Linked DNA regions of Homo sapiens: regions 1, 3, 4, 5, 6 and 7 are each linked to region 2. The links are contacts of gene promoters, found by promoter capture Hi-C in blood cells and fetal thymus (Javierre and others, 2016). All regions are on one chromosome and are shown on one strand. Each heading gives the region's core, a stretch centred on a gene start or on the middle of the fragment in contact. The rest is flanking DNA. Distances are from core to core; before and after follow the strand shown. Region 1 overlaps ATP11B (ATPase phospholipid transporting 11B (putative)). Region 2 holds the start of DNAJC19 (DnaJ heat shock protein family (Hsp40) member C19). Region 3 holds the start of ZNF639 (zinc finger protein 639). Region 4 has its middle 38 kb from the start of LINC02031. Region 5 overlaps ATP11B (ATPase phospholipid transporting 11B (putative)). Region 6 holds the start of PIK3CA (phosphatidylinositol-4,5-bisphosphate 3-kinase catalytic subunit alpha). Region 7 overlaps ATP11B (ATPase phospholipid transporting 11B (putative)).

Region 1 (3,422 bases), core at 899-3,398, 1.8 Mb before region 2:
AGACTACTATGCAACTGTAACGCAGAAGATGAGAAAGAACACTGGAGTTAAGAAATCTAAATTCCTGCCAGGTGCGGTCGCTCACACCTGTAATCCCAGCACTTTGGGAGGCCAAGGCGAGCGGATCACGAGGCCAGGAGATCAAGACCATGGTGAAACCCCGTCTCTGCTAAAAACACAAAAAATTAGCCGGGCGTCGTGGCGGGTGCCTGTAGTCCCAGCTACTCGGGAGGCTGAGGTAGGAGAATGGCCTGAACCCTGGAGGCAGAGCTTGCAGTGAGCCAAGATCACGCCACTGCACTTCAGCCTGGGGGTCAGAGGGAGACTCTGTCTCAAAAGAAAAAAAAAGAAAAAAAAAAGAAATCTAAATTCCTATGTTATTTGTAGATTATGTATAGAGATGCTCAATGACTATAGGCATAACTAGAAAAATAAATAAAAATGAAAATACAATCCATAGCTTATAATCATCAAAGGGAAAAAATATGAAGAAACTTAACTTCAATGCAAAGCTAATCAAAATCTAGAACTATTTTCCATGGAGCTAGACAAACACTGTAAGTGGCATATGGAAGAATAAAGTTCAGTATAATTGTAAAAAGAAAAAAAAAGAAGGTGGGGGTTCTGCCTGCCAAATACCAAGACTTATCATTAAAATACTATAATTAAGACAGAGCATTATTTGTGCACCAAGAAATGAATGAAATGGAATACAGAATCTAGAATGAGACCAAGGTATATGAAAGAGAATGCTGGTATATGACAGAGTATGTGAAAGAGAATGCTGGTACGTGTCCTAAATGTGTCACTTATGACAGAGAAGGCAAACAACACAGACTCGTGGAGGAAGGATGCCTCATTCAATAAACAGCATTGACACAACTTTCTATACGGGAGAAAACAAATTCCCTTCCTTATTCCATATACAAAAATTGATTCCAGGTATCTTTAAAGATCTAAATGTTAAAAAACTAATTTTAAAACAATTTGAAGAAAACGCTGGAAAAACAGCTTTATGATCCTAGTATAACAAAGGAATTGTCAAATATGTAATAAAAAGCAGAAATCATATGTCTAATAAATTTACCTACAAATAAATTTAAACTTTCTGTATAAAAAAAGATACCATAAACTAAATTAAATACACGGAACAGACTAGAAGATATTTACAACATATACAACAAAGAATTGGCATCCAGGCTATAGCAAGAATTAGGAAAGGCCAAACTACCCAATGGAAAACGGGCAATCTATTCATGTGAATGAAATTGAGGATACCTGCATCTCACCAGCAATCAAGAAAATGCAAATTAGAACAAAATGAGACACTATTTCACACCCATCAGACTGGTACGTTTTTTCAAGTCTGACAGTACAAAGTGTTGAGCAAGATGTAGGGAAAGGAGAACTCTGTTTTAGAAAATACTTTGGCAATATTTAGTAACAGTCATAATGTACGTGACCCATGACCCAGCAATTCCACTTCTGGGTATTTAACTTCAAAATAAATAAATAAATAAACAATAATAGTCATTGTAACACTTTTTGTAACAGGAAAAAATTGGCAACAATCCGAATATACATTAGAAAAAAAGAACCCCCCATAAGATTGGCTGGGGCAGGGATTACTTCATTTTGGTAGTTCCAAAGCCTAGCAACAAATATGCTATCACAGAAAACTAATTCACTTACAGAAAATGACTCAATTCATCAATACATGAGAAAGAAATGGTGTCACCTAAAAGGGGATGCAGAGTTGAGAAATGGCTTTTGTTAAATGGAGAACAAAACTAAAGCAGACAAAATCCCTTCCTTCCTGAGATAAATGAGACTAGCAAGTTTTGGAGTAGGTTAAATAGCATTAAGTGCTGAGAAATCAAGCAAGGAAAGGCAACAGGGAAGTAATGGGGAGGGTCAGAACATTATACTGAATGGCTGGAAAAAGCTTCACTCATGAATAACGCAATATTTGAATAAAGACTTGAAAGGAGCGAAGGAGCCAGCAGATGTCTGCAGGAAGAACATTCCAGGTAGAGGTAGTAACAGTCAGGACAAAGCTCCTAAAACTGAAGTATGCCTGGGACTTCTGAATTGCAATAAGGCTAGTGTGAATAAAGAGTGAGAGAATAGTGATGGAGGATGAGAAATGGATTGGAAGAAGTGTAGGGGTTGGCATACAGATCAAGCAGAGACTTTGGCTTTTACTCTGAACAAAAGAGCAAGCACTTGGAAAATCTTAGGCAGAGGAATTATATGATCTAACCTGTTTAATAAGATCACTCTGGTGGGTATATTGAAAACAGACTGCAAGGACAGAAGGGGAGAAACAATGAGATGAACTAGGAAGCTTTTGCAATAATCTAGGTAAGAGGTAGCAGTAGTTTAGTTGAGGGTGGTGGCAGAGAAAGACGAGAGAAATGGTTCTGGATATATCATTTTTAGCAACAACAAAAAGGGAGATACGATTTGCTCCCCAAACACTTAGATGTATTCATGTTATAAGTAAAACACTTTTTAAAATGCATTTTTTAAAAAATTGACAAAAATTCTGTATATTTATGGTGCACAACATGATGTTTTGAAGCAAAGCATTTTTTGATTCATGTGTCTTTCTTTGATTTCTTCTCCCCACAGAGGTATCCATAGAAAAAGAGCAGTTGACTTTTAAAGAACTACATCTCCTGCTTAGAATTTGACAGATTCTTAGTAAATTTATTAGCAATACATATTATGCATGTACCTTTTATTATTAATATAACTGAATTAAATCAAGAGTTAAGGGGAGAGTTTTACATTAACTTATATTAATAATCACTGATGTAACTGACATAAAATAAAATTTCTACACTTGTAAAAATAAGAATTTGAGAATGGAAGGAAAGGAAGAAGCGATTTTGGAGATAAATACAGAAATATTTATGGGTAAAATTATATAATGTCTGGGATTTGCTTCAAAATCACTAAAGGGAGTGAGGATAGTGGGTGGGGGGAATAGATAAAACAAGATTGGTCATGTGCCGATAACTGTAAAAGTTGGGTAAAGGATAAATTATACCATTTGCCCAACTTTATACCATAAAGGGGCTCATTATACCATTATCTCTACTTTTGCAGGTGATTGAAATTTTCTATAACATAATGCTTAAAGAAAGAATAAAAATAACCTGTACCAGCTTTACCGGCTTCACACAGTAAGAATAAGCTACATATATACAACATCTGTTTCTGTTCCTAACTTTTCCAAAATGTACGTGAATGAATGAATGATTGATACCTATGCATATCATCCTATTCTTCCTCCTTTCCTGAGGGGGAACTTCACTTCCAATTAAAATGTGGAGACAGACACAGCTTAACTAATTAATATCCTTAATTTGGTATTTCATCTAAATTTTGGACAATCTAATAGTTTTAAAGAGAAA
Region 2 (3,253 bases), core at 596-3,095:
ATGCAATTACATATATCCTTTAAGAGGAAACCAGAAGGAGATTTTACAAACAGAAGAGAAGGACAATGTGAAGATGGAAAAGTTGGAGCAGAGTGAGATTTCAAGATGCTGGCTTACAAGACTGCAGTGATTCAGTCACAAGTCAAGGAATGCTGGCAGTCACCAGAAGCTAGAAGAAATGAGGAATGATTATCCATTCATCAGTCAGTGGACATTTAAAAAGATTACTTTTCAAGGCTGTTTCTAGGATCTTGGCAGGTAGGTAAGAGGCAACCAGACTTAAGATTCATGAGTGAGGTATCATGAGAATGAGGAAGGCTTCTACACTCCAATTTGCACTCTGGCTTCCCTCATAATAATAGCCCCACACTGAGTGATGACCATAAGCAGAACACAATATGTGCATAATCTCTACGTTCACAAAAACTCGGCAAGGTAGTTATCATTACCTTCATTTTACAAATGAGGAAGAAACTCAATCAGAAATAACTTTTCCAAGTCACAGTATTAGTAAGTGACAGAGCCAGGTTACCTCCAGTTTGATCTGCCACCAAAAAAAGAGCTATCTCCAGCTCAACAAAATGTCTTGCTGTGTTGCTACTCCCAATTTCCTGAGTCTGGGTTTTGTAAAGTCTCAAAGCTAATTAGAGTCTACTGTAAATCTATTCCTCCAGAAACTGCATTACACAGTTTGTACATACCAAAAATATGCATAATAAATTTTTCCAGATAGCATTCTAGCTTGTTGATGCCAATTTGGTCCCAAGGTCTTATGCCTCACTTGATTATTTATTTTGTAATTGTTGGGTAAAAACCAGATAAAAGAGAGGCAAAAGAGGAAGTTATAAACTTAATGCTAGTGTCTTAGTGCTGGATGTCACCTTAAATCATGTGTTGACAATAAATTACATCACAAAAACCTTAGCGCTAGAAGAGCTCTTGGATTATCAAATGCAAACTGCTTTTACAGATGAGGAAAACAAACCCAAAAATTTTGCATATTTGTTTAATAACTAACAAACTCATCAAAGCAGAATTGCATTGCAATGTAAACGGATATTTAACACTGTAAATTCTGAGTGGGAAGTAACTCCAAACTTATTTTGATCATGCAAACGTTGCATTGTAAAATTCCATTATTGTCTCCATTATTTTTTTCTTCTCAAGCATTTATGTAGGGATGTATGAAACTGATGTCCACGTAAGGGCAAAATCCAGCCCTACTTTTTATTTTGGGTGAGGAGGAAAACTTTTAAATAGCCCTTTTCAGTTGTAGGATCTTGACATTCCATGTTCAGAATATGAACTGTCTTTAATCCCATTCTACAAAACGAAAACCCAAATATTCACAAAGTCTTGTCAAGTCACATCCTTAAATGAAGTTCTTTTACATTAAAAAATGCTACCGAGCAATCCCTGAAACACAGTGTGGTTGGTTTCATTTGTTTTTCTGGGCATCTCGTTTCCTACACTGGGTTACAACATATTTGTTTGGGTTCGTGGTGGAAATGTCACAGCATGTTTAACTACATTCATTACCCTTGACAATTATTAACATAAAATAAAGGCAAAACGAGGTGCTAAGATGTAGGGGGAAAAAATCGGTCTGAGTAAGGCTGCCCATGCCCTTCCCTGCAAGAATTTCCAAATACCCACCGCCCAGGAGCAAAGGACAGAAAACACAGAGAAGCCCCACCCCTACACCCAGAAATAAAGAGATCCGCCCACCCTTCAACCAACCCGAAGTCGCTTTCTCCGCTCTGTCCACTGCTTGAGCGACTTTCCTTCTCCTCCGCGTCCCCTTTTACGACAGTTTTCCGGCCTAGTTTGCGGCTGCTCCTGCCGTGTTGCGTAGGGCGCCTGTGCTTGAGGTTGGGGGTTGCGTCGCTCTCTGGTAAAGGCGTGCAGGTGTTGGCCGCGGCCTCTGAGCTGGGATGAGCCGTGCTCCCGGTGGAAGCAAGGGAGCCCAGCCGGAGCCATGGTGAGTGCGGCCTTCCGGTCTTCTTGGCGACCTCCGGCCCAGGCCTCAACCTCAGCTCCCCGCCTCGGAGGTGTGGAGTTGAAGTTGTGCTCCTTAGTGCGACTGCGGGCGGGAGGTTTCGGTTATTGGGGAGTCACACTCACCAGGACACAACCCTGTTGGCTCGCTCTCTTGGGGGTTTGTGTTTTTACATCGTCTTTCTGCACGGTTCTCCAGCTTCTTGTCCGCACGGGCTCTGCAGGTGTTGCTTGCCTGGAACTCCTGTAAGGTCAGAGGCTGTCATGGACTCGGAGATTAGTGGAAACGTATTTGATTATAAGTGCCCTTGCCCTAACACATCTTCACAGCACTAGCTCCACTTTGCTATGTCCTTCTCTTTGGCTTTTGCTGACAGATGTCTTCTCCATGCTTCCTGAACATATTTGGGCCTGTCTTGTTAGGAAACAACAGGGCAGTGCCAAAGGTATTAGTCTCCTAGTTTAGCCCACGTTTAGCCTCGAAAATGCGTTGTTAGAATTTTACAGGAGCCGTCTGTAAACAGTTTTTCCTTCTGTAGCAGAAACCTTATTTCCACATTTTTTTTTTTTTTTTTGAGACAGAGTCTTGCTCGGTCGCCTAGGCTGGAGTGCAGTGGCACAATCTTGGCTCACTACAAGCTCCGCCTCCCGGGTTCGCCATTCTCCTGCCTCAGCCTCCCAAGTAGCTGGGATTACAGGCGCCCACCACCACGCCCAGCTAATTTTTTTTTTTTTTGTATTTTTAGTAGAGACGGGGTTTCACCATGGTAGCCAGGATGGTCTCGATCTCCCGACCTAGTGATACGCCCGCCTCGCCTCCCAAAATGCTGGAATTACAGGCGTGAGCCACCGCGCCTGGCCTATTTCCACTACTTTTGATTGAACTTTAATGTGACTTAATTTGTCTGGTGATGAAAGAAGTTTTCAAAGGGAGGGAATCATCTTTTTCACTATTGTAAAGATAAATAAGCAAGTCGAACTTGCCCTCTTTCCCATATGATGAATCCTGTAACTTTAATGCATTCAGCATAACAGATGCAGTAGTTTTAAAGATTACTGGACAGAATATTTCCGCCTTAAAAGTTGTTTCTCTGCCAGGCATGGTGGCTTATGCCTATAATCTTAGCACTTTGGGAGGCCAAGGTGGGAGGATTGCTTGAGGCCAGGAGTTCAAGACCAGCCTAAGCAACATAGCAAGACTCCGTCTCTTAAAAAAAAAAAAAAAAAAAGAAAAAAAAAAGTTGTTTCTCCTATT
Region 3 (3,169 bases), core at 146-2,645, 1.7 Mb after region 2:
GTCCCCCCTCCCTCTGAAATACAAACGACATATGTAACACGTGTCACTGCAGAAAAATCAGAAAAATGTTTAAAAATTTTTTATATCACCTAGAAACCAACATCTTTCCACCTGTCATTTTTTTCAACCAACAAGAAAGTCTATGCACAAAATAGAATACATACAACAGGCAGTCAGCAATCATCAAATAGATAAACGTTTCAAAAGGCCTTTCATGCAATGTATATTCTTCCTAATTGCTGTAAGACGTCTTTACAGTAAATAACTCCATTTTTAACGAGTTTAAAAAGAGTTAAGCTTTCTTTTTCGTTCTCATTAAAATAAGCATATGCTTTAAATTGTAAAAGAATTGAAACAAAAACATGTTGCAGGAGAGCCTGAACTAGAATCCACTACATGTCCAACGTGGAGGCAGTCTTTACTGCAATATCACACGGTCACTAAATACTTGATTCGCTATTTTTCAGTCCGGCATAAATCTTTCTCTTCGAAAAAAACAAAAAAGGCATAAACTGCTTCAAATGATTCGTTTCCCTAGACAGTACTTAAAGACAAAACCAAAAAAGGGGGTTTCTAAGCACCGTCACACGAGTGAGGCGACTCTCAGGCTGGAGGCTTTGGGCGCCAGCATCGACGCCTGCTCTCCGCGGCTACAACTCGTTGCGCGAGCCCGGGGATTCGCCGCCGGAGGTCACGAAGCCGCCGGGCAGGGCCGCAGCGCCAGCGAGGACCCAGGATCGTCCCGAGCCCGGACGCAGCCAGACAAATGCCCGTCGGAGGCGCAGGGCAGAAGTCCCTGGGACTTAGCCGCCTCCACCCCGGCGCCACGCACCAGCTTCGCCCGGGCCCAGAAGCCGGCGCCAAGGAGACTTCCAAGCCCCGACACCAAAGGTTCCGTAAAGACAACGGCAGCAGGGGGCCGAGGGGAGCCCGGCCAAGGCGTCCTGCGCAGGGGGTGGAACTGCCTTCGGGATGGGGGAGGGGAACGCCATCCCGCCATATAACGAAGGCAGAGTTTCCGTATAAAGGGAGCTCCGGTCTCTCCCGCCCTCTCCCGTTAGAAGATGCGCCCGCACGCCCGCGTCCCCTGGAGCAGTCCAGCGCCCGACCCACCCGCTCCTCCCTCACACTCACCAGTCAGTCCCCCGAGGCCCTCCCGGCCGGCCCACGCAGAGGCGGCGGCGGCCGAGAGCGCAGGCGGAGGGGCCGCGCGGTCCTTCCCGCGGACGCACGGCGGCGGGCAGCGCTGCTCCGGCCCTAGCGCTCCCGGACGCTGTGCTGGGCCGACCCCTCTCCCTCCCCGCGCGCCCCACGCCCTGAGCGCCAGGCCCCTGGCCTAGGCTCCGCGGCCGCACTGCCCTGGCCGCCACGCTCCGCGCCTGCGCCGCGCACCTCAGGGGCCCGCCGAGAGGGCGGGGAGGTGACGAGGTGAGGTGGGGGCAGGGAGCGGGCTGCGCGAACGCACCGCACACGCGGCCTGGGAGGGACCACCGGCCCGCAGCCCCGGGGGAGGCCCAGCGGCCCGCGCCCCCTGCCGGAGGCCTTGCGCCGCCGCAGTCTCCTTCTGGGCGGGGAAGAGCCCCTCCCGAGCCCCGAGGGCGATCCCACCCTCTAGGATTACTCCACGCCAGGCGGCCAGCGAATTTATCCCGCCCGCCTCCACCGCCCCTTCAAGCCCTGGGGAACTGGGAGAAACGTGGCGCGCAGCGGCACCTTTCCCACGCTGCTCCTCAAGGGAAAGGACGCGAGTGGTCTTGCCCAGGTTAGGCAAGGCAGATGGCATCTCAGACCCCGAAGTGTGCCAGCCGCCTGTTGGGGACAGAGAGGCCGAGGACCTCGTCACGGTTTTACTGAGGCCACACCAGAGAACCACCTAGGGCTAGGATGCTGCCCTCAGGGCAAGAGGGTGAAACCTGAAGACTGCGAGTCGTTGTTGAGTTTCACCCGATTCCTTGGCTCGAGAAATAGTGGAATGAATGAGGAGTTAAGGGGGACTGGACTCGACGATTTAAGTCCTTTCTCGACTTTGACTTTCTTTGAGCAGCTGTAGAAATGATTAAATTACACGAGCATAAATAAATTTGTGAACATGGTTCCATAAATGATCTCTGTGCAAGTGTGGTGATATGTTTAATTCAGTCCTTTTGACAATGAGTTGAGGTTTTTAGTCACATTTTACAAAATGGAAAAGTAAATGTGTGAGAAGCTAAAGACTGGGTCTTAATTCATTTTGGTAGCCTAAACCCCTGAGGTTCAAACGGTTAAGAGGATGACTGAGAGCCATGTGGATTATCAGGTACCCAAGGTCACTCGGATAGTTAGGGCTGCAATGATGTCTCTTTGTTCACGTCCACTGCTTTTTCTGACAACCACATGCCAATCAACCAATCAATCGCTGGAAAGTAATAATCACAGACTTTACTCTGATCCCTTCACCATCCCCCAGGAGATAAAGCTATATTTGAAAGAGACACTACTTGTTTGTGAGGCTCAGTTTTTATGACCTCCTAAGTTTTATGTGCGTACTCAGCTCAAATAAATGCTCACGAATGCTAGTATGGCCCGAATTAAAGTTCGAAGAAATGTAGAGACATTTTTAAATCCTAGAATAGTTAGTATCTAGCACAGAACCGGGAATCGGTGGAAACCACAAGGGGGTGTCATGCCACCATCTTACCATTTTGCCTTACCACATAGCCTTGTGTCCAACAAAATCTTTATATTTCAAAATGAAGTTTTACTCCAAAACATTTTGTAGTGAAAGTAAACGCACACTCTCCCCAGCATCCCACGTATTGTTTGCACTTAGAGGAGCTTGACTTTGTTTAGATGTTGTTTAACATAGTCACAAATTGCAAGCAATTTCAAGTTCTTGATTAGCTGGAGTGTTTTTCAGTTTCATTTTTGGGTCCCTCTTTTCCTCATCTCCCGCTCCAAGGGAGGGTGATAGCTGGGATAAAACCCTAAAATCTCAAGAGTGCTAAATTGTAGAGTTTGTTAAATACTATTATAAATTTGATTCAGGGCTATTAAAACATCGTTCTTCCAACTTTTTCACACACTTGTAGAATAGCTTAATTTCTCCTTCCTTTCCTTCCTTCCTTTTCTTTTTTTTCTTTTTTCTTTCTCACGGTCTCACTCTGTCGCCCAGGCTCCAGTACAGAGATGG
Region 4 (3,557 bases), core at 998-3,497, 1.7 Mb before region 2:
CCTTCTTCCACAGAGGGGCACTCCAAGCTCATCACTGAAACCGTGCACTGTGTTGTTTTCAGTGAGCGGTTGTAGAAAAAGAACTTCCAATCTTTTCTCCATGCCTAGGGATTATTAAGAGCGTAGAATTTAAAGTACATTTGCAGGGCTCGATGTGAATGAGGCAAAACCATTTCAGTATCAATCCCAGTGGTGCCAGCAACCCATTCTAAATTAACTCAGGTTTAAATATGTTACAGAAATGTGTTAAATTTGAGAACAAATTTCACTTAGGATCTGTGGGTCTCTGTTACACAAAAGATGGAATACTTTGGAGGCAATGCAGTTCTTATTTAAAGCTAAAATATGGCTTATCATAAAACTATAGTCAGCCCGCTTCAAACACTCATGTCTTCACCAGAATGGGCAATATAGAATGAAAATTACACCTTGAGTAAACAGAATTGTAGATAAATGAGTTATGTCTCAAGACGTTTTGAATATTTTTATTATTGTGTCTGGGCCAAAAGTCTTTCCATATGTCCAAAGGCCCCGTGGCATTTCCAAATCAGCCGTGGGTGACGGTGGGACCGCGGGGCTCGTATGATGCCAACGCAAGCGTACCGGGTGGTCCTCATAGTTTGTTACATTCCAAAATGCAACCATTAAAGGGGCGGCCCTTACCTTCCCTAGTGAATACAAAAAGCCTTTGGAGACCAAAGGGCTGGAATGCTGGGGCAAACGCCACCCCACGTGCTGACCCCTTGGCCAGAGCCGAGGCGGGCGGCCTGGAGTCCCCAGCGCGGAGCCCCCAGGTTCCCAGGAGCTCGGGTCGCTCTCCGCTCTCCGCCCCTCGCCCGGGCCCACGGAAAGGGCTAAATGGCTTGCGACCAAACAGCGAATTTAAAAGGAAGCTTTCACGAAAAGCCCAAGGGAGCGGCAGCCCAGATTGTGTGGAGGGCAGAGCCGCGGGTTCCGAGGGTCCCCGGGGCGAAGCGGGCAGGGGCGCACCTCCGGGCCGCGGGCAGATGGAACCCGGGCTCCCGGGCCGGCGCGCGGGGGGCGGCCGCCTAGACATCCTCTCATTCGGCTGAAGTTTATTCTGGGCCACCGAGAGCTGGAACAGGAAATGTTCCGTCTTTCATGTCCACCGGTGGGCTTCAGACAGTTTTGCACCTCCCGGCGAGCACTGATTAGCCGGCTGAGTTCTGCCGCATTTGAAGTTCACCATTTATTATTAAAGAGAAGTGGCAGTGATTAGTGCTGGGTCCTCGGGGAGTGGAATAAATATTTACTAAATAAGAACGTTCCGCCATAAAGGAACGGCTCGAACAGGTTTCTGAAACCCCGGCGCGGGCCCCAAGTGCCGCCCCCAGGCAGGAAGCGGCGTTGCGGGGCTTTCCGCGAGAGGCTGCCATCTGCAGACCGTGCTGGGCGGCGACCTCCGCGGGGCAGGGCTCGGCCCGGCGCAGCCAGGGCCCGACGAAACTCGGCACTCTGGGCGTTTAAGTTATTTTATAGGCTGTGTTTGTTTTATAAAGGCAGAGGTGAATGTCAAACTAAACTTCGAACCTTTCTTTAATTTAAGGAACAAAGTAACATTTTATCGCTCAAGTAAGGGGACTGTGTTGCTTCCAACGTTAGGAGCATTTTCCAGTATGCTCCAAAGTGTACCCAAATTGTGAGCATCCAAGAAAGCATATTTATGTATATTTCAAAACATTATGTCATACAATGTAAATTATACAGTTTTTATTTGTCAACTGAAGAATAATAGTAAAAAAAAAAGTTTATTTAGTTTATTTGGCAATTAACTTACACGATGGCATCCCTGTCAAAAGCATTCATGTTGGTTGTTTAAAAAGCGTTTTCCTTAATTATTAGAATAATACTTTTACTGTAGAAAATATGAAATTTGCATATATCTAAACATCAGTATCACATGCTTTTTTCCATCATATTTTGCAGTGGGAATTGTCCAATGACATTACATATTTTTAGGGACAAATTTAGTGTCTATATCCATTTATTTAACTTACAGTGAATTAATAAACATTAAGGTAGTTTCAAGTTTTCCTTATTATAATAGCTCAATTAATATTTTTGTATGCAATTCTACACTTGTCTGATTATTCCCTGGCACCATTTTATTTTGAATTTCTTTTATTGTAAGTTGGGTTTAATATTATATTGCGAATAATTACAGAGAAGGGCCAGTTTTTGCTCATCACCATGTACCTGGTGTCTTGTATTATGCTGAGCACATACCAAATGCCCAATAGATATTGATTGAATGAATAAAAGAATAAAAAGTTAGTAGAACATTTGAATTTCTTGTTTTGTGAATTGCTTAATATTATTCATTTATTATGATAAGTTATCTTTTTCTTATGAATTTATAAGCTGTGTTTTAGGTAATAAGGATTTAACCTTCGGTTTGTCGCACATATGGCAAACCTCCCTCCCGTCTACAAAGCATAAGTTTGTGTGTATGTGTGTGTGTTTGGGTACTTTTTGACTTCTAGAAGTTAAAAAAAATTTCATAAGGTTATATTTGGATGATACTCTTTATCACACATGCAAGTTAAATGGCTATAGACAATACTCTACAATCTGTTTTGTGGTATTTTTACATATTTTGGACAGCACATTTTCATTCTTCTATTTATCAAGTTTTTCCCTGGACTTGGAATTTTTTTCAGGATATAACACATGGAGTAAAAAGGTAGTACAATCTTAGTCTTAGTCTGACAAGCACAGGATCTTGAGCCTGGTATCATACCAAAGAAAGATCTGTCAATTTCCCAAACAACCTTTAATTTACCTTTTTCTGATTCACTATTATGAAAGATATGAATAGAAAAAAGATCCCGGTTTTTAAGGGGTTTTCTGTATGTATCTCCTTCCAACTGAATGTGTAATTCCCTTTTATATCTCACCTGGTTTTGGTTGAAGTGACAAGTTTTGGGGACCATGAGTTGGAAATGGGTATAATTATTTGACACAGCAACAATGAAAAACTTTATGAGTATGGATATTCTATTGGTTTGTCAGGGCTGCCATAACAAAACACTGCAGACAAGATGGCTTAAACAATACGAACGTATTTTCTCACAGTTCTGAGGGCTAGAAGTCCAAGTTGAAGGTGTCAGTAGGTTTGGTCTATTCTGAGGCCTCTCTGCTTGGCTTGCAGATGAACTTCTTGCTGTGTCCTCAGATGGCCTGTTCTCTGTTCATGCATGTTTTGTTGAAATTTCTTCTTTTTATGAGGACCCAAGTCATATTGGGTAAGCACCCTTTAAACATCTGATTTTAACCTAATGACCTCTTTAAAGACTTTATCTCCATATATTGTGAGATTTGGAGGTACTGAGGTTGGAACTTCAACATATTCATTTTGGGGGCATGCAATTCAGTCCATAACAGGTATCTAATGGAGAGAGAGATTATGCCTTAGATTTATTTTTAAAAAGATAAATATTACCAGAAATAAAAGCATGGTACAGAAGTTAAAAACTAAGGCAATGCTACAGGATTTAAGTCACAAAAGCAAACAGGATTTCACTTTCCGTGTACTT
Region 5 (3,522 bases), core at 77-2,576, 1.9 Mb before region 2:
TGCTTTTAGTGTCATGTCTTCTAGCTCTTTGTCTAACACTAAGTCCTGAAGATTCTGTTTTCTTCTAAAAGTTTGTTTTACATTAAATCTATACTCTAATTGAATTAATTTTTACATACAGTGGGGGTTTGGGTTTGTTTGTTTTGCTATGGGTATCCAATTGTTCTAGCACCATTTGTTGAAAAAGATTACACTTCCTCTATTGTATTGCTTTTGTGCTGTTGCCAAAAATCAATTGGGCCTATTAGTGTTGGTCTGTTCTGGGGTTCTCTATTGTGTAACACTGATCTATGTATCTATTCTTTAACCAACACCAAATTGTCTTGATTACTGTAGCTTATATAGTAACACTTAACATCAATAGCAATTCTTCTCACTTTATTTTTCATTTTCAAAACTGTTCCTTTGCTTTTCTATCTAAATTTCAGAATAAATTTTCTACTTCTACAAAAAAACTTGCTGAGATTTTTATAGAAATTGCATTATACCTATTAATCGATTTGGGAAATCTGGCATCTTTACCGTACGAATCTTTCAACCCATGAACATGATATATTGTTCCATTTATTTAGATCTTTGATTTCTTTCCTCAGTGTTTTGTAATTTTCAGCTGAAAAGATGACAAAAGGTGGTTACCTTCCACCTTTTGCCCATTTTTTTTAATTAGCTTCTCTTTTCATTGTTGACTTGTAGGCAGGTGTGTGTGTGTGTGTGTGTGTGTGTGTGTGTGTGTGTGTGTGTGTGTAAACACATGCACATATATATTATATACTCAGGATACAAGTCTTTGGTCAGATACATGTTTTGCAAATATTGTCTCCCAGTTTGTAACGTGTATGTTCATTTCTTTAAATGTTTAGCCTGATGAGCAGAAGTTTTTAGTTTTGAGAAAGTGTAATTTATCAATTTTTAATTATTATATTTGTTGTATCCTAAGAAATCTTTACCTACTCTAAGTCATAAAGATATCTTTCTAAGTTTTCTTCTAAAAGTATTTTTTGTTTTGTTTTGTTTTGTTTTGTTTTTTTAGATGGAGTTTCGCTCTTGTTGCCCAGGCTGGAGTGCAATGGCACGATCTCATCTCACCACAACCTCCGCCTCCAGGGTTCAAGTGATTCTCCTGCCTCAGCCTCCCAAGTAGCTGGGATTACAAGCATGCACCACCATGCCCGGCTAATTTTTGTATTTTTAGTAGAGACAGGGTTTCTCCATGTTGGTCAGGCTGGTCTCGGACTCCCGACCTCAGGTGATCTGCCCGTCTCGGCCTCCCAAAGTGCTGGGATTACTGGTGTGAGCCACCGCGCCCAGCTCTTCTAAAAGTTTTGTAATTTTAGCTTTTATATTTAGGTCTATGACTTGTTTTCAAAACTTTTTGGAGTACAGCATAAGGCAGAAGCTAAGTTTCATGTTTTTCTCATTTGAATATCCAATTGCTGCATCATTTGTAGAAAATACTAAATTTTTCATTGAATTGACTTGTTACTTGGTTGAAAATCAACAAACCCACACATGAATGGTCTACTTCTCAACTCTCTATTTTATTCTATTGAACTATCATCTTTGTTAATACCATACTGTAATTACTGTAGCTTTATATTAAGTATTTAAATCAGGTAAGGTAAATCTTTTAGCTTTCTTAAGAGATTGTTTTTGCTGTGCATCTGAATATGCATTTTGGCTATTGCATTTCAATATACACTTTAGTATTACCTTGTCAATTACTACAAAAAGATTGCTGTGATTTTGAGACTGAGGGAATCTACACAGTAACTGACAGCTTAACAATACTGAGCTTGACAATCTATTAATGTGATTTCTCCATTTATTTAGTTCTTAATTTATCTTGCCATGTTTTGTAATTTTCATTATATAAATCTTGCACAAGTTAAAAAAAAACTTATTCCTAAATATATTACGCTTTTTGATACTACTGTAAATATAACCTTTTAAAAATTTCATTTTCTTAACTGTTTCTTACTATTATAAGATATAAAAATGATTTATTGGCCGGGCACAGTGGCTCACACCTGCAGGGAGGCCGAGGTAGGCGGATCAAGAGGTCAAGAGATCAAGACATCCTGGCCAACATGGTGAAACCCTGTCTCTACTAAAAAATACAAAAATGAGCTGGGTGTTGTGGCGCGCACCTGTGGTCCCAGCCACTCGGGAGGCTGAGGCAAAAGAATCGCTTGAACCCGGGAGGCGGAGGTTGCAGAGAGCCGAGATCGCACCACTGCACTCCAGCCTGGTGACAGAGTGAGACTCTGTCTCAAAAAAATAAAAATAAAAAAGGTTTCTCTTTATTTACCTTGTATTCTGAGACCAACTTGCTTATTATAGTTTTCTTATTGAATACTTATGTCTGTTTACATGAAAAATCATGTGTCTTCCAGTAGGACAATTTTACTTCGTGCTTTCTAGTACTTATGGCTTTTAATTCCTTTAACTTGTTGCACTGAATGAGGCTTCTAGAATAATGTTAAAAAGTAGTGAGACTGGATAGTCTAGGTACAAGTCCTTTACAAGATATATGCTTTGCAGACATTTTCTCTGGTCTATGGCTTGTATTTTTAAATTTTTTGTTTTAGTTTCTGGCATCTTCACAACATAAACAGTGCCTTTTTAAGTGTTTAAGTCTTACATTTCGATGAAGTTTAAGCTATCAATTTTGGTGGTTCCTTTTCCGTACATTTCCCATCTAAGAAATCTTTACTTAACCCAAAGTCACAAAGATTTTCTCCCATGTTTTACAGATTTAGTTATTATGCTTAGATCTTACACTTTGAGTCAGTTTTTGTATATGCGGGAGACGGGTAAGGGTGAAGATTGAATTTTTGACATACAGACGTCCACCTGTTCTAGCACCATGTGTTGAAAAGGCAAATCTTTAGCGTGGAGACATTTTTAAATAATAACTTAAAGCTATTTGACAGACTTAAGGGTTATTTAGACTTTCTGTTTCATCTTGGGCCAATTTTGGTAAGTTACCTGTGTTTTCAAAGAATCTGCCCATTTCATCTAAATTGTAAAAGTCAGTGACAAAAAGTTGTTCACAGTAGTTCCTTATTATCCTTGGATATGTGTAGCATCTATGGAGCTATCCCCTCTTTCATCCCTGACATTCGTAATTTTTTAGTTTTTTTCTCTTATACCACTTCTCTTTTGCTTAATCTGTCAATCTCAGCAGGAATTTGTCAACTTTATAGCTAGAAATTTCCCTCTAAGCTGGGCTTTGCCTTGAGTCTGCAAATGTAGATGTGTTGGGTTTCAATTACCATTCTATTTGAAGAAATTTAAATTTCCTTTGTGATTTCTCCTTTGACCCATGAGTCAGTTAAAAGAGTTGTTTTTTAATTTCAAAATATTTGCAGATTTTGTTATTGATTTTTAATCCAATTCCCTCATTGTCAAAGAACATACTTTGTATGATTTCAATCTTTTGGGATTGGTTTTATGGCACATCATATGATCTGTCTAGATGAACTTTCCATGTATAATTATGGAACTATTCTAGTGTTCAGT
Region 6 (3,471 bases), core at 298-2,797, 1.8 Mb after region 2:
GAGTATTTTCCAGAAGTTTTCTTAAAACACGCAATCCAGCACATAAACAAATTTTGTACGGTGCAATGTAAGCAAATACTCAGAAAAATTCAATTTCTAAGCAGGATAACATATGACCAATATTGCCCTCAGTGGTTCAAAAGTCGCAGTAGAAATAATCCCCTGAGATAACCTGGAATTTACCTACCCAAGTATTCTAAGGGGTTCTCCCCGGCCACACAAACTATGATTCAAAACATCGTTCCGAAAACCCAGGTCCTGCATGTGCACAAAGGCGCAGTGCTGGAATGAGGAAGCTTCACCAAGATGAAATCACAACTCTAATTCATTAAAGAATATGCAGACTGTTTTCTAGAAAGACCCTCTTGTTGCGCTCCCTTTACCCTACCCTTTATTTAACCATGTAAACAGTCTCAATTATTGACATAAAAAAATAGCTTTCGATTCCCAAGTCTGGTAACACGGTTGGCCACCATCACTATTCCTTTAGCATCCTAAAATAAACCCCTCGAGCCGAGGTCAAAAACACGCCGGCTGAACGTCTGGTGTTTACATAGCCCAATCCCGGGCCCTACCCTACCTTTCCGAGCCACTTAAGAGCCATGGAACAGGCATCACATAATACACTTAGTAAAGAGACAAGTCACATGAGTCAGTGTCTCAGGTCTATGAATGAAAGATCTAAGCGTTTGTCTCAGCTAAAAGGAAAAAACAACCTCGAAAGGAAGGGTGGGAGGGGAGCTGGCGGGGGTGAGGGGAGCGGTGTTCCTTCCATACCCCTGCCGGGCGATTTAAACCCAGTAAGAGGCAAACGCAGGGCCGCCAGGCTGGCGGGGCCGGAGTCCTCGGGCGTGACAGCCCCTCAAGAAAAGCTCGCGGTTTCGCGCCCGCGTCCCTTGAGCCGCAGTCCTCGCGGCAGCCCCTCCACCCGCGGGCTGGGTGGGCGTGCAGGGCGCGGGAGACAGAGCCACCGCGGCCGGGGCGGCGGCCCTGGGCGCACTTCCTCAACCTCCAGCCGCCCCGTCCCCAAAACTGGGAGTAGAAGCAAAGGAAGAGCGAGGCGGCAGCCAGAGAGAAAGGAGAGGGAGCGGCGAGCCCTCGCCTCTGCAGCTAGGAGAGGCCAGAGGCAGGCGAGGGAGAGGGTGCGGCGATCGCAGGCGAACTCCGCCGCGGGCCGACGCTGGGAGACGACCAGCCCGTAGCCTCCGCCCAACACGGCGGGCGCGCCCGGGAGTCTCCGGCACCCACCCGGTCCCCATTCCCACCGCACCCGCTACCGGCCAGTCCGCGCTCTACTCACGCTCGGGGCTCTTCCAGGCTCCGCGGCTCTAACCGCATCGGGTCCCAGCCCCGCGGGCGGCGGCGGCGGCGCCGAGGGAGAGGAGAGCGGGCGGCACGGCCCCCGCCTCCCGGCCCCTCTCCCCCGCCGCTCCGGAGCTGCCCGGCCGGGCCCGAGCCCTGCCTCGCCGGCGGCCCCAGCCCCAGTCCCAGCGGCCGCGGCAGCAGCAGCCCGACACCTCAGCGGCCGCAGCGGCGGCACCGGAACTGCCGCTTTCTACTTCTCGCTCCCTCTCCTCGCTAGCCCCCGCCACACGCCCCCGCCCCCGACTCCTTTCTCCGTCGCCCCTGTTTTTTTTTCCTTTTGTTTCCAGAATAAACTTTATTGGTCTCTTTTTCCGCTCACATCGTGTAAACAAACAACGAACTCTTCCCCACCCCCTCGGCCCCCCCCCTCCTCCGGCAGAAGAGGGTAAGAGCTGAGGAGGGGCAGAGCCTACAATCCCCCGGAAGCAGATGCGCAAAGAAGCGGAAGCGAAATTGAGGCGAGGAGGAGCAGGGAGTGGGCAAATAGGGTAACAATATGTGCTACTGCGCCTGCGTCTTGCTTTTCCGCCCGAAGTTTATGTACAGTTGGGGCTGCTCTTCTGACGTTTGTTTAATGATCCGTCTTCTGCAGTAGTGAGGGTGTTGTGTCATCCTAGGACAGCGTACGTGTAGTATATTTGTTTCTACGAGCAGCAGGCGAGCTGGGGTAGAGATATAGAAAGGAATATTGGGAGCAAGTGGGTTATTTCACTTTTACACCCATAGAGGAAACGAGATTAGTTCGGGGGTGAGAGGAGGTGCGGTGGCTAACCGCCGCTGTCAGTGGCTAACCAGCGTGGTTATGGATTCTATAATAGAAAGAATGCTTTTTACAAAGCGTTGCTGTGCGTTCTTCTGCCGACATGGTTTAAGTTGTATACCATCCCGAAGGCGGAATGCACTGTCACAGCCCTCTGCAGTCCTTTGACTCACTTCGTGGAGACCTTTTGCTATGCCCTCATTTTTTTTTTTAAATCGAATTCTGATTCGAAGCAGCTTGTAGGATTCAATTCTAACTATTCAGAAGACGTGGGGGATTTTTCGCGTAATGCCAACAGAGACTTCAGAAATGTCATATAGGCTATAGATTTGATTCAAGGTAGTGTCTTGGTGCTGCGTACCTTAGAAGTCTGTTTGCTTGAGAGTAAATCAATCTGTTGACTTTTGAGATTACTACTGATAAGGGTTCGGTACTGTGCGTTTTTCTCCCCCTACTGGTCTTTTGTTGTAATATTGGAAAAGCGTAGGAGCAGTGATTAGAAGTCTGAGATACAAGTACTCCAGCATCGGTTCCTCCTTGAATTTTTAAGTAATAGAGGGCTTGGGAAGTGACCCATCCTAGAGATGTTACAGTCCTACTTGTCCTCTAGAGCAAAACTCTGACCAATAACAGTCTTCTCGAACACCGCACGTCCGTCCATACCCCAATGGTAAATGAGATGGATCTGTTCCTCTTTGTGGTCGTAGTTTCACTTGACTGTATTTCTTTCTTTTCTGTGTTTTCTTTCTTTCGTCCTTTTTCTCCCTTTAGCTCGGATTTTCATCTCACATTCCAGGGGTTTGTGTTTCTAAATGTTTTTCTCGAACCAATGTTCTTCAACAGTTTTAGAACACTGTTACTCCAGAGTACAGATTTTTTTAAAAAAGGAACACTGAATTGCTAGTCAAAGTAAATTTTAAGGCAATATATCCCAAATTGTGTTTCAAGCACAGAGTTATATGAGATATTAATAGGTAGACCTTGGTGGGGAAAAATATACTAGGGATATTTTTCCTTATAAAATTTATTATTTATTTATTATTATTATTTTTTTGAGCCAGAGTCTCACTCTGTAGCCCAGGCTGGAGTTCAGCGGTGCAGTCTCGGCTCACTGCAGCCTCTGCCTCCCGGGTTCAAGCGATTCTTCTGCCTCAGCCTCCCGAGTAGCTGGGATTACAGGCACCAGCCAACATGCCAGCTAATTTTTGTATTTCTTAGTAGAGACGGGGTTTCACCATGTTGGTCAGGCTGGTCTCAAACTTCTGACTTCAGGTGATCCACCCCCCTCGACTTCCCAGAGTGCTAGGATTACAGGCGTAAGCCACCGCACCTGGCCTATTTGTGAT
Region 7 (3,133 bases), core at 253-2,752, 1.8 Mb before region 2:
CATGTACCCTAGAACTTAAAGTATAATAATAATTTAAAAAAAAAAAAAAGAACTGTGTCACTAATCTAAAGCTCATCCATTATCCTGGATTCTGACATCTCCTCTTCCTACTTTCTGCTTTAGAACCATCATCCAAAACGAGAGATGGCACTAAGGGTATGTTATACACATAAAGAATGTGAAGGCAGCAACATGGGGCAGGGCAAAGAACTGCTGACCTAAGACAACATCCTTGGGAAAGACGAGGTTAGGATTAGAGAAAAGATGTTAGTTGCTTTAGAAGAGAGGGAAGGAGCAATGCAAAGATGCTTCTTAAGGTGCCCTTTCAGGCAATAGTTATGATATAAGGAAAACTTTACCCTCAGTCTCTTTGACTCATATCCTCTATAACTGTACCGTCCAAGCCACTAGTCACATGTAGCTACTGACATTTAAATAAAAATTAAATTAAACTTCAGTTTCTGAGTGCACTAGCCATATTTCAAGGCCTTGATAACCTTGTATAATTTATTGGCCATCATATGGGACAATTCCATCATGACAGAAAAGTCTACTGCAAAGTACTATTCTACAGTCTTTAGCTTCAGAATAACCTAAGACAACTTAAAAATGCCACAGGAAAAAATGAAACAAGGAAGAATATATAAGAGTGAAGCTGTACTTTGGCACCATAAAATGTGTACAAATGAGTGATAAAATTGGAGGAAGCAGACTTTAAAGCAACACAGAACTGAGTTTAAATTCCAATCTATGGCCGGGTGCAGTGGCTCATACCTGTAATCCCAGCACTTTGGGAGGCCGAGGTGGGTGGATCATGAGGTCTGGAGTTCAAGACCAGCCTGGCCAAGGTGGTGAAATCCCATCTCCACTAATCATACAAAAATTAGCTGGGCATGGTAGCAGGTACCTGTAATCCCAGCTACTTGGGAGGCTGAGGCAGAGAATGGCTTGAACCCGAGAGGCAGAGGTTGCAATGGGCCAAGATTGCACCACTGCATTCCAGCCTGGGTGACACAGCGAGACTCTGTCTCAAAAAAACAAGCAAACAAAAAAAACCCCAAAAATCCAATCTAGCCATTTACTAGTGAGCAACCTTGGGAAAATTATTCCATTTCCTAGGACTTCAATTGAGGAAACTGATTTAAAATCAGTATAACACTGCTTTGTAAAATAGATTTCATAAAAGCTATCTCATAGGGTTGTTGTAAGGATTAAATGATATGAGAAGTACTTAATATAGTTTCTGGTACATAGCATAAATATTAGTTCCTTAGTTTACTAGCAACTAAAGATAATTTTTTGGCATGTGGGCTACTGATATCAGCAATTAGCCACTCCTTGTATTCTACAGTTAACCATTTTGGTTAAGATAAATCGACCACCGTTTTCTTGAATTTGTAAGGATATAAATAAATACACACACACACATATAATCACTTTTAAAAATAAAATGATCCATATCTACAGTTTTAATAATAATTTTTTTTTTTGAGACATGGTCTCACTCTGTTGCCCAGGTTGGAGTGCAGTGGCACAATCACAGCTCACTGCACCCTCGACTTCCCAGGCTGAAGCCAGCCTCCAGAGTAGCTGTCAGTAGAGGTGTGCCACCACACCTGGCTAATTTTTTGATTTTTTGCAGAGACAAGGTCTCATTATGTTGCCCACACTGGTCGCAAACTCCTGGGCTTAACCGATCCTCTCGCCTTGGCCTCCCAAAGTGCTGGGATGATGGGTATGAGCCACTGCACCTGGCCTAACAATAAAAATTTTAATTCTTACCTTAGATGAAATGATCCTGTTATCTATAAATTTCTGAGGTGTGTAAAGGCCATTCTGAGGAAACCTGTTGGCTACGTAGATGGTTCTTGTGTCACTCTGATGTGGTGGGTCAAAACCCTAAGACCAATCAAGCAAGAGAAAAAGAAATACTAGTCAACCAGGTTAGTTATGATACTTTACTGTTAGCTTTATTTAGCTGGTCAGATTACATATATTACTATTGCCCTTAAAATGCATATAGACTCAATCCATCTAATTAGAAGAGCTATGCCACCTATTTTTTTTCTTTCACAGGTAAACAGGTACATTATCTCCAGATAGAAACTTTACTATTTTTTTTTCTTTCACAGGTAAACAGGTACATTATCTCCAGATAGAAACTTAACTAGGTAATGCCTTTAGTAATGAAAAACAGTTCATTCTCTGTCAGAAATACTACTATATTGAAAAAAAATCATATGGGAGACCTATAGAAGTATTTGAGGACAAATTTTCTATCCCTACTGCATTCCTTCCCTTTCATTTCTATGGATGGATTTCTACTCAGTGATGTGGAAGTCCTGTGTAGCTACAGCCTAATAAGCACCTACCACATCTGATGGCAAAGGTTTATATTTATTTTACTTTTTCCATCCCCAGACTGACTTGGTTGCAAAGAGCTTTGTTCCCAGATGACTTACAGTGCATTAGGTAGGGTCTTGCCCAGACTCATTCCACACAATCACTTATTTGAGCCATTATAGTATCAATTGACTTACTGAAATAGAGATATGAATATGCTGTAATTCCTGGCCTTTGGGAACTCATATCCTGACCTCAGATTGAGAAGACCATCTGTCAAGGCATATTAGTAATCACCTCTGGTAGAAAAGATTTCACGGGTAACAAGAACACTGAAACTTTATTCTTAGAGGACTGTATTTCCACTTCCACAGTTGCAAGTGAACCTTCAAGACACTTTAACATTCGGCATATTGTCTAGGGTTTTGAAATATTAGAAAAAAGACGCCGGGCGCGCTGGCTTATGCCTGTAATCCTAGCACTTTGGGAGGCTGAGGCGGGCGGATCACGAGCTCAGGAGATCGAGACCATCCTGGCCAACATGGTGAAACCCCGTCTCTACTAAAAAATACAAAAAAAATTAGCCGGGCGTGGTGGCGGGCGCCTGTAGTCCCAGCTACTCTGAGCAGGAGAATGGCGGGAACCCGGGAGGCGGAGCTTGCAGTGAGCCGAAATCGCGCCACTGCACTCCAGCCTGGGACACGGGGAGAGACTCCGTCTCAAAAAAAAAAAAAAAGAAATATTAGAAAAAAGAAAAAAAGACTCTTTTGGCAGATCTTGGGAACCCACT

What was found. Contacts are between HindIII fragments. The CHiCAGO score rates a contact against its expected background, and 5 or more counts as called.
Region 1: a fragment that was not itself captured here is called in contact with the fragment with the promoter of DNAJC19 in region 2 in 1 of 17 cell types (naive CD8 T cells); the score reaches 7.7 in naive CD8 T cells.
Region 3: a contact is called between the fragment with the promoter of ZNF639 here and the fragment with the promoter of DNAJC19 in region 2, in 3 of 17 cell types (monocytes, naive CD8 T cells and non-activated CD4 T cells). The highest score is 5.6, in monocytes.
Region 4: a fragment that was not itself captured here is called in contact with the fragment with the promoter of DNAJC19 in region 2 in 1 of 17 cell types (total B cells); the score reaches 5.2 in total B cells.
Region 5: a fragment that was not itself captured here is called in contact with the fragment with the promoter of DNAJC19 in region 2 in 1 of 17 cell types (naive CD8 T cells); the score reaches 6.0 in naive CD8 T cells.
Region 6: the fragment with the promoter of PIK3CA here is called in contact with the fragment with the promoter of DNAJC19 in region 2 in 3 of 17 cell types (naive CD8 T cells, activated CD4 T cells and total B cells); the score reaches 9.2 in naive CD8 T cells.
Region 7: a contact is called between a fragment that was not itself captured here and the fragment with the promoter of DNAJC19 in region 2, in 1 of 17 cell types (total CD4 T cells). The highest score is 6.9, in total CD4 T cells.

What each region holds. Positions count from the first base shown.
Region 1 is chr3:182,801,176-182,804,597 of GRCh38, reverse strand. The region is part of intron 1 of ATP11B (ATPase phospholipid transporting 11B (putative)); the gene reads right to left. Among named protein-coding and RNA genes, the nearest start is that of ATP11B, 9.4 kb to the right of the region's middle. RefSeq lists a silencer at 1,883-2,177. The HindIII fragment of the contact is 402 bases long and covers 1,948-2,349 here.
Region 2 is chr3:180,988,328-180,991,580 of GRCh38, reverse strand. It overlaps DNAJC19 (DnaJ heat shock protein family (Hsp40) member C19), which reads left to right and starts at 1,845. Exons shown (of 6, transcript NM_145261.4): 1 at 1,845-1,981. The coding sequence starts at 1,979. The HindIII fragment of the contact is 8,604 bases long and covers 1-3,253 here.
Region 3 is chr3:179,321,257-179,324,425 of GRCh38, reverse strand. ZNF639 (zinc finger protein 639) reads right to left here and starts at 1,395. Exons shown (of 6, transcript NM_001303426.2): 1 at 1,135-1,395. RefSeq lists an enhancer at 436-485 and silencers at 1,056-1,195, 1,226-1,665. The HindIII fragment of the contact is 4,241 bases long and covers 300-3,169 here.
Region 4 is chr3:182,680,217-182,683,773 of GRCh38, reverse strand. No RefSeq gene overlaps it. Among named protein-coding and RNA genes, the nearest start is that of LINC02031, 38 kb to the right of the region's middle. RefSeq lists enhancers at 69-118, 1,243-1,292 and silencers at 963-1,032, 1,443-1,512. The HindIII fragment of the contact is 2,704 bases long and covers 896-3,557 here.
Region 5 is chr3:182,851,976-182,855,497 of GRCh38, reverse strand. All of the region lies in intron 10 of ATP11B (ATPase phospholipid transporting 11B (putative)), which reads right to left. Among named protein-coding and RNA genes, the nearest start is that of ATP11B, 60 kb to the right of the region's middle. The HindIII fragment of the contact is 5,370 bases long and covers 1-3,522 here.
Region 6 is chr3:179,146,433-179,149,903 of GRCh38, reverse strand. It overlaps PIK3CA (phosphatidylinositol-4,5-bisphosphate 3-kinase catalytic subunit alpha), which reads right to left and starts at 1,547. Exons shown (of 21, transcript NM_006218.4): 1 at 1,301-1,547. It overlaps PIK3CA-DT (PIK3CA divergent transcript), which reads left to right and starts at 1,931. Exons shown (of 3, transcript NR_125401.1): 1 at 1,931-1,988. RefSeq lists enhancers at 73-122, 684-1,183, 1,993-2,112, 2,723-2,832 and silencers at 923-972, 1,033-1,502. The HindIII fragment of the contact is 3,906 bases long and covers 299-3,471 here.
Region 7 is chr3:182,819,026-182,822,158 of GRCh38, reverse strand. It overlaps ATP11B (ATPase phospholipid transporting 11B (putative)), which reads right to left. Exons shown (of 30, transcript NM_014616.3): 2 at 1,783-1,899. Among named protein-coding and RNA genes, the nearest start is that of ATP11B, 27 kb to the right of the region's middle. The HindIII fragment of the contact is 7,894 bases long and covers 1-3,133 here.